Regions from separate parts of the Homo sapiens genome. Here region 2 is linked to region 1. The links are contacts of gene promoters, found by promoter capture Hi-C in blood cells and fetal thymus (Javierre and others, 2016). All regions are on one chromosome and are shown on one strand. The core of a region is centred on a gene start or on the middle of the fragment in contact, and the rest is flanking DNA. Distances in the headings are between cores, read along the strand shown. Region 1 holds the start of CCNI2 (cyclin I family member 2). Region 2 overlaps SLC22A5 (solute carrier family 22 member 5).

Region 1 (6,088 bases), core at 3,298-5,797:
CATGGAACTGGAGACCATGGTTTTTAATGTTAGAACAGAAAACGCCATACTTTTCCTATATCAATGATCAAAAGTGCAAACAATTTAAATTTCCATCAGGGAACATCAAATGTTGCCCAACCCTTTTCATTCCTATCCATGGCTCCGTAAGGGGCTTGAGGCTTAATGCCCATCCTGTGGCCAAGCTGAGCTTCCACTCCGGGACCAAAAAAAAAAAAAAGTCTGCTTTGTGACATCATCGTTATGAGCGGAAAGTACCTAGATGACAATGTTTCCATTCTGAAAAATAGAAACATACTATTCAAGACCAAGGTAGCAGAAAAGTTACTTGTATCTGCTTATCATAAGACGAAACTCTGCAACTTGGCAACGGTGGCCAGTTTTCGTAATGAAACAGTCTTTAGTAATTTAATCTTCATGCTTCATAACAAACCAAAACCCCATGAGATTTCCACATTGCATAATTTTGCCTTACTAACAGAATCATATCCTTAAGGATGACCATCATTCCCCCAACTAAAACAAATACAAACTAATGTATGATATTTTTTTAAGTGCCAGATCAATATGGTCTAAAGCTTCAATAAGGATTGTGTGTAGGTGAATAAAGACAGCTAAGTGAATGTGTGTAAAGTGTAGCAAAAGCAGACAGATATTTATGTACAGTATTCATAGAATGGAAAGTTAAATATTTTTGCAGTGTGTATTTAAAAGAGAAACTCACCATAATAGTGCCGTCTAAAAATCTTTGTAAAGTTAATTTAATGTCCTTTAGAAGTGGGAGTCTGGTGGAACTGTGTTGGATTTAAGATACCTTTTCACTCTTCCGTATGTCATGAGCCTTGTGCGTCACCTCACTGTGGTGCATGTGCAAGGGCGTGTGCACGCCTGTGCTTTGCCATCCCATGTTGTAAACAGCTGTTCCAAAGGCACAAACGAGTTTAGGGTAGACTCTGTAAACACCTCCTTACTCACTATAGTCAAGAAGTCCAGCGGCGTCCCAATATAGAGGTCCCAGTGCAGTCTGTCCAGAATAGCCAGCTCCATCCTCAGCAGCTCATTCGGGGAATAGTCAGAGCCATAGTGCTTTGTGAAGTCTTTTACTTGTGGAATAAACTGTAAAAAGAAAATAAAGAGGCCAAAGCCCTACATCATGTCATAGTAGCTTTTGTTTTCTTACCCATGGGGACTGGGCATTCATGACCTTAGTGGAGTTGTCTTCCTGTGGCCTGCCACAGAAAATGCTTCTGAAAGAAATACTAAACCAGATCTTGGCTATCTGTCAAATCCTCAGGTAGTTATGTAGTGAACATCACATGGTCCCCCTCTGAAACCGGGTCTTGATCCCCCAGCTGCATGCTAGCTCATACCCAAAGGTGCTTTGGAGGCTGGGGCTGTGCCATCTCCCCTGTTCAGCTGCAAGAACTCACCCCAAGCTTTCCAGGAGCCATGGGTTCTGCCTCTCCCTATTCCTGATCCCTACCGTGGGTACTGGGCATAGAGAAAAAAACTATGCTTTTGAGCTTCCTAGTCTGTACCAGACACATTGATAAAACCTCCTATGGGTTTTTTAGCATCGCAACTGCAAACACATTTCCTTCAACCTTGATTGAAGGTGGTTCAGTTCTGGAAAAACTATGGCTTTTCCCACAGAGGGACTAATGAGGCTTGTCTATGAGTAAACATTTGAGTACCAAGTACATTAAAGGCTTGATCCTATGTTTTTAGATAAACAGAAGTATTACTATAACCTCCAGAAAAAGGGTCACTTGATTTTTAGTTGGACAAAAGCAACTTGGGCATTAATTCTATTCTAATAAACAGGAGTTTAAAACATTTTTATTGAAGGTTTGGAACTGGACACACAACTTCTTCCCTGCCTCCTCAGACCCAGAGATCAGCTAAGGGTGACCCCCGTGGCAATGGCAGTGATTTCACCATCCCCAAACTGGGAGAAGTTGGAGGGAGGTAGGAAAGCTTGGAAAGGGTATTAGGAGATGATCTCCTCCTGAACAGATGCCACAGTGAAATTCAGCCATCCAGCCATGCCTGAAATGCTCATGGGCCCCTTGTACTTTACCCCCAGCACATGGCCCTCCTGTCCCTCTCAGGGGTCCCAGAGTTCCCAAGGACCAGCTTCATTGACACAGCCAAGTCCTCAAGTCTCAAGCAGCTTTCTTAGACATAATTGCTTGGGGTGGATGTTAAGTCACATGGTTTGGGAGGCCTTTTTCCTTGCTCAACAGCAGATGCCCCTGTTTAGAGAGAGGTAGCATCTGTCATCAACCAGTGAGGCCAGATGTATCTGTCAAGAGTTCAGGTCTCTAGGTTTGGTGGGCCAGGACAGTTCAGCTGCTCTACTTGTTCATTTGTGGGGTCTCAAAGCCTGACAAGCCGATGGAAGGGATAGCAGAGATGCCGGCAAGTTGGTGACTTTTTCAAAACATCCACCATACCTAAGGGCACAGACCTATCAGGAAACTGGAGTCCTCCAATGTTACACCCCTATACCTCAAGTGCAGCCCAGTGTGGACTTCCAAGGATGCATACCTCCTCTTCTTCATTAACTTTTGCAGCGAGCCTCAAGGAAGTAATTGTGGCGCAATGCAGGTATTTCTCTTTTACCTGCAGTATGGAACAAACACATTTGAGCAGAATATGAATGCCAGAAACAAACTGAAAAGCATCTGTGTTTGTTTTCTTTTATACACTTTTTTGACATGGAGTCTCACTCTGTTGCCCAGGCTGGAGTGCAGTGGCATGATCTTGGCTCACTGCAACCTCCACCTCCTGATTTTGAGCGATTCTCCTGTCACAGCCTCCTGAGTAGCTAGGACTATAGGGGCGGGCCACCACACCTGGCTAATTTTTGTATTTTTAGTAGAGACAGGGTTTCACCATGCTGGCCAGGATGGTCTCCAACTCCTGACCTCAAGTGATCCACACCCCTTGGCCTCCCAAATTGCTGGGATTACAGGCGTGAGCCATTGCGCCCAGCCGTTTGTTTTAATAAGCTTTTTTTTCCCATTTTTAAAAGGCTCAATTTCTCCACAAGACAGAATGTTAGTGCCGTTTTTAGATCTGACCAACGAAGATGCTCCTGATTTCAGAACTGCAGATGACTGGGCAGTATTCCTTCATTTCGGGACTGACTGGAGGTGGGAAATATGGCACCTTCTCAGGGAACCCAGTCTCATCCTAGCCTCAAGCTGCCCTCGACAGGTCGAGACAAGCACATCCTACCTCATTACACAGGAAGCCCTTTCCCAGCTAGGTCCTCTCACGCTCCCCAAGTCCAATCCTGATGACTACATGACCCTGAGACAGCCAGTGTAGGATGTGGAGAGGTTCCAACACCAGCTCTTCCACTCGGAGCAAGTTAGTTTATACACCTTGGTTTTGAGCATCTGGAAACCCTCACCTCTCAAGCAGGAATGGGGAGCAAAGGTTAGTTTCTTCTCTCACCATCTGCCACCGTCCCTCAGAGGCCTCCCTACCTTCACTGAAATCAGGAGGCGGCCAAAGATGGTGAGGGCCAGGTTAAAAGTGGACTGGGAGAAGTAAAAGGTGTTCTGAAGCCGCAGGAGCCACAGCACGACTTCCTCGAAGGCGTCGCAGATTTCATCCTGCTAGGAAGAAGAGCAGGTGGGGCGAGGAAGGTCGCTAGCGGCCACTCCTGGTCCCCCAGCAGCAGGAGCCTCCTGCTTAAGGTGCGGGGGGTGGGGCAGTGAGAAGTCCCTTCCTCTGCATGCCCGCTGGGAGTAAGCGCCCCCCGGCGCAGCGGCTCACCCATCACCCCCACCCCTCGCGCCCACTTTTCGTCGTAGGCTGAGTTCCTTGATTCAAACAGGCCCTCTTCCGAAGGCCCTGCTAGCAAGACGCCCTCCTAGAGAGAAGCTGGTGGATCCAGCCTCGTGCCTCTCGTGAGGGGCCACACCTGGGGAAGGGCCCGGCCTCCAGTTTCAGAACACCCGAGCGCGGGTGCAGGTGGAGGCCACATCCGCCTGCCGTGCACGCGCGAGGAGGGCCACGCGGCAGCGACGGGTACCTGGGGTTTGCCGCCCCGCCACAGGCGCGCCTCGCGGTCCTGGGCCAGCTGCAAGTGGCAGAGCAGCCGGCGCTCGTCCAGGTCGCCTTCCAGGTTGCGCGGCTTGCGGGACTGTGGAGCCGGCCGCGGAGCTTGCTCTGGGGCGGCGGCGGGGACCGCGTCTGCGGTTTTCCCGGCTGGCGCCGTACCGCGCCGGGGCCGCACGGGGACTGCTGCGGACGCCGCGTGGAGGGAGGCCGCTCCGGGCTGGCGGGTCCCAGGGCACCTGCTCCGGTTGCTTCGGGGCAGAGGGGCCTCCCCCGGAGACGGCGGGAGAGGAACGCCCAGGGCTGTTTCCTCCAGACCGGCGCCGGGACGCCCGCCTGGGCTCTGGACGGCGCTGACCTCTGAGCTCGACGGCTGCGGCGGGAGCTGAGCGCCCGAGGCCATGTCGTGAGCGGGATCCTGAGTCTGAGTTGCCGCTTAACCCGGCATTTTATAACCCAGCTCCCGGAACACTGCAGCCTGGGGCGCCGCCGGGGGAGGTGGGGAGGCGGGCTCGGCGGGCCCCACCCACAACGCTCGCGGTGGAGCTACCTCTGGCGCACCGGGCCGCGCCTCGCCTCCTGGGCACTCGCCCCGCGGGTGGGCGGCGCGCACCCAGGATGCGGCAGGACTGGGCGCGCACAGGCGGGTGGCGGACCCCCTCCCTTCCCTCCATCCCCGCTGCTGCCTAGCGCACGCCTCCTCCCCCCTGCCGGCCGTGCTCCCTGAGCAGAGCCCCCAGCCAGGGGTGGGGCGGCTGGAGACTGCGCCCGCCTTGGGCCAGGACTCCCGGACACAGACCCTGGGTCTTACCTCACATTACACACTTGGGGACACAAGACCAGGTAAAGAAGCAGCGAGAGCGCCCTCCTCAGACAGGCTTGAAATGGAATTCCAGACGCGCTGTGTGATCTCATGCATGTGTCGTGACCTCTCAGAGCCTTGGCTACCTCTTCTCCGAAAAAAAAAGTGATAATACCTCCCTCACAAGGTGATTCATTCATATACATATATGTTTATGTATCTATACATACATATATAGCTATAAACGTATAATAAGGAAAATCATACAAATCATATATATGTATACACATACATACATAAATTTTAGGGGTGGATCTTGCTATGTTGCCCAAGCTGGAGTGCAGTGGCTATTCTCAGGTGTGATCGCAGCACACTACAACCTCAAACTCCTGGACTCAAGCTACCCTCAACCTCAGCTTCTCAAGTAGCTGAGACTTACAGGTGCACACCACCACACCTGGCTCCTAAGTTATATTTTGTTTAAAAAATTCATTACATTAAATGTATATTAAAAATATATGGGAATACCAGAAGGACAAGAAAGAGAGGAACAGAAGAAATATTTGAAACAATAACGACTGAGAATGAATATTTCCAAATTAATGCCAAACACCAAACCACAATTCTAGGAAGCTCTGAGAACATTAAGCAAGATAAATGCCAAGAACTACACCTAGACATTCCTATTTAAACCGTAGAAAATCAAAAGAAACTATCAACAGAGTCAGCAGACAACCTATAGAGTGGGAGAAAAGTATTAGCAAAGTAAGCATTCGACAAAGGTCTTAATATCCAGAATCTGTAAGGAATTTAATTAAACAAGCAAAAAACAACCCCATCAAAAAACAGGCAAAAAGACATGAATAGACTTCTCAAAGGGAGATATACAAGTGGTCAACAAACATGAAAAAATGCTCCACATCACTAATCATCAGAGTAATGCATCTCACACCAATCAGAATGGCTACTATTAAAAAGTCAAAAACCAACAGACGCTGGTGAGGCTGCAGGGAAAAGGGAATGCTTATACACTGCTGGTGGTAATGTAAATTAGTTCAGTCACTGTTGAAAGCAGTTTAGAGATTTCTCAAACAACTTAAAACAGTACTATTCAACCCAGCAGTCCCTTTACTGGGTATATACGCAAAAGGAAAATAAATTGTTCTACCATAAAGACACATACATTTGCATGTTCATCACAGTACTAGTCAC
Region 2 (2,500 bases), core at 1-2,500, 360 kb after region 1:
TTGGTGATCACAAGCCAGAAGCAAAGAGCTGATCCACACGCAGCAATAACCTGGGGTGGATGAGCTTATGTGTACCCCACACCGCACAAAAATGGGAGAGCCCTGCACCCCCTGACGGCATCCCCATGCTGGCTGGCCACCTCCATTTCTGAAGAGCAGTGTTGCCATCTGCTGGGCTGAGGAGATGGGTGCAAGATGGGCTCCGGAAGCCTGGCTTCTGTGCATGTCTATGTCAGCCCAGGCCCTGCTACACTCTCCTCCCTGTCCCCGGCACCAACAGAAGCTTCTGCACTGGCCTTTTAGCTTCTCTTCTCTCCTCACCCTACCCCTGATTTATCCAACAGATTAGTCAGATACTCTACCTAAAATAGCATGTTTGGCCAGGTGCAGTGGTTCACTCCTATAATCCCAGCACTTTAGGAGGCCAAGGCCGGTGGATCATTTGAGGCTAGGAGTTCCAGACCAGCCTGGCCAACGCAGTGAAACCCGTCTCTCCAAAGAAATACAAAAAAAATTAGCCAAGTGTGGTGGCAGGCACCTGTAGTCCCAGCTACTCGGGAGGCTGAGACATGAGAATCGCTTGAACTGGGGAGGCGGAGGTTGCAGTAAGTGGAAATCACGCCACTGCACTACAGCCTGGGCAACAGAGACTTTGTCTGAGAAAAAAAAAAGAAAAAAAAAGAAAAGAAAAAGAAAAGAAAAAAAGGAAAAAAATTAGCATGTTTATCAAGGCACTTGAGTGCTCTATGGATATTATTTTCCACCTTGCTGGGACCAGGTAGCCGCCCCCCACCCTCGGTCATGACTGGGCCCCATGATGTGCGGCTTACTCTCCCACTATGCCCTGAAATGCTCTCTGCTCCACTTGGGCTGGTGATCTCACCTTCTCCACCTGCAAGGGGTGATTCCCACCTTAGCACCTCTGCAGTGTTCCCCTCTTGGTCTGGAATGGCCTCTTCTCTGCCTGTTCAACTCCTCTACCTTGGTGGTGCAGAAGGAGCCTGGCTTCCTCCATGTGGCTACCCTGAGGACTCTTGCTTTTGGTGCCAGTGCCTGTGGCATGAGGCTTCAGCAGCACACAGCCAGAACTAGGGCCTACACTGTCCTGCCCTGAGGCTTGGGAACTTCCTACAGGGCATGCTGGACCCCATCTTCTCACAGCTACTGCTATTTTTCCCCACACTTGGGGCAACCCAGCACAGGGCTGAGAGCAAGTCTGTTGCTGTCATGGGATTCTGTTTTGTTTTGGCTCTTTTGAGTGTGGAGAAAACATTCTGAAATAATTTATAATCTATGCTTCCTGTCTCTGGGAGACAAAATAGGGATTCATGGGTTGTTGCTGCCCTCTAGTGAAGGCCAGACAGAAATCATCCTGCCAGTGGGCACATGGGGCACAAGGTCACACTCACCACCAGAGTGCCACGCATAGCACCCCCGGCATCGTCAGCGCCACCAGCAGCATCCGCCAGTCTCGGATGAAGTAAGCAAACAGTGGCAGCACCATGTAGCCAAATGCATAAAATATGCACACTCCTAACGTAGAGAATATTATACGAACTGACTTGCCAAGAATTTCTGTCCCTGTTCAAAACAAGGGAGGTCGAGTTAGCAGTTTAATTTGGGTTCCTTCCTTATTAATTTTTTATGGTATCTTTGTGAATACACAGACAAGAAAACAGCGAGAACTCTCTCTAAGTTCATGGCGCTAGGGAGCGGATGGCGTTCTGAACCCCTCCTGTCTGACTGTCTCCTGGGGGTACATCCCTGTGGCCTCTCAGGCCCCCAAGCAACAGTTCTCTCTTGAAAATTTCGCCATGTTCTGAAGCCATGTGCTAAAGATGCCATGGTAGGCCCCCTTTAATCCTCACATGAGGAAGAATTTATTAAAAGTGAAGTCATTACTAAGTCAGCACATGCTGACTTAAGCCTCAAGGAAAGAATATTAAATATAAAAAGAAAAAACAACCCTTTCAACAATACAACCCAAGGAACTCAAAGGCCTTATCAGCTAGAGTCAGGTTCCTCCAAACACAGGCCGGCCTGGCAGCTTCTCAGTGACAACAGGCTGGCACATTTGAGACAAAGCCCTGCAGTGTGCACTCTGAATTAAAACCCTGAAGGTGACGAAAGCCCCTTCCTATCAATTTATTCTTGTCCGTAGATATCACCAGCCACAGTGCTCTGCAGACAAGGGGTTCTCTACCTTAGCAAGCTTGCCAGTCACAGCCCCTCCTCCTCCAACCATGCCGCCCTCTTTCTGGGGCTGGCTCAGCCCTGTGCAGTGGCAGGCCCTTTTTGTAAATGGAGGATCTCTGGTGAGTCCTAGTAAATTGACCATCAAGTACTAAGACCAAGGAGCCACAGCCCAGAGGCCAGAAAAGAACTGGAAATCAGAAGTCAGGCCATTGTGCTGCTGGGGACCCCAGGCTGGTCTCATGTCTGGCTCAGTTTCCCTGCCTGTAAGTAAGGTTCACCAGGAAGCTCTGGCTAGTTTTGTTAG

Evidence for each region. Contacts are between HindIII fragments. The CHiCAGO score rates a contact against its expected background, and 5 or more counts as called.
Region 2: a contact is called between a fragment that was not itself captured here and the fragment with the promoter of CCNI2 in region 1, in 5 of 17 cell types (endothelial precursors, activated CD4 T cells, total CD4 T cells and 2 more). The highest score is 7.6, in endothelial precursors.

Annotation. Positions count from the first base shown.
Region 1 is chr5:132,745,885-132,751,972 of GRCh38, reverse strand. CCNI2 (cyclin I family member 2) reads right to left here and starts at 4,547. Exons shown (of 6, transcript NM_001039780.4): 1 at 4,049-4,547; 2 at 3,498-3,626; 3 at 2,551-2,625; 4 at 976-1,116; 5 at 1-7. The coding sequence starts at 4,477. SEPTIN8 (septin 8) reads left to right here. Exons shown (of 10, transcript NM_001098811.2): 10 at 1-1,154. RefSeq lists enhancers at 123-332, 4,985-5,064 and silencers at 4,185-4,374, 4,395-4,464, 4,475-4,894. The HindIII fragment of the contact is 9,894 bases long and covers 3,017-6,088 here.
Region 2 is chr5:132,384,409-132,386,908 of GRCh38, reverse strand. SLC22A5 (solute carrier family 22 member 5) reads right to left here. Exons shown (of 10, transcript NM_003060.4): 4 at 1,410-1,581. Among named protein-coding and RNA genes, the nearest start is that of MIR3936HG, 16 kb to the right of the region's middle. RefSeq lists enhancers at 69-278, 419-468, 962-1,291. The HindIII fragment of the contact is 1,929 bases long and covers 286-2,214 here.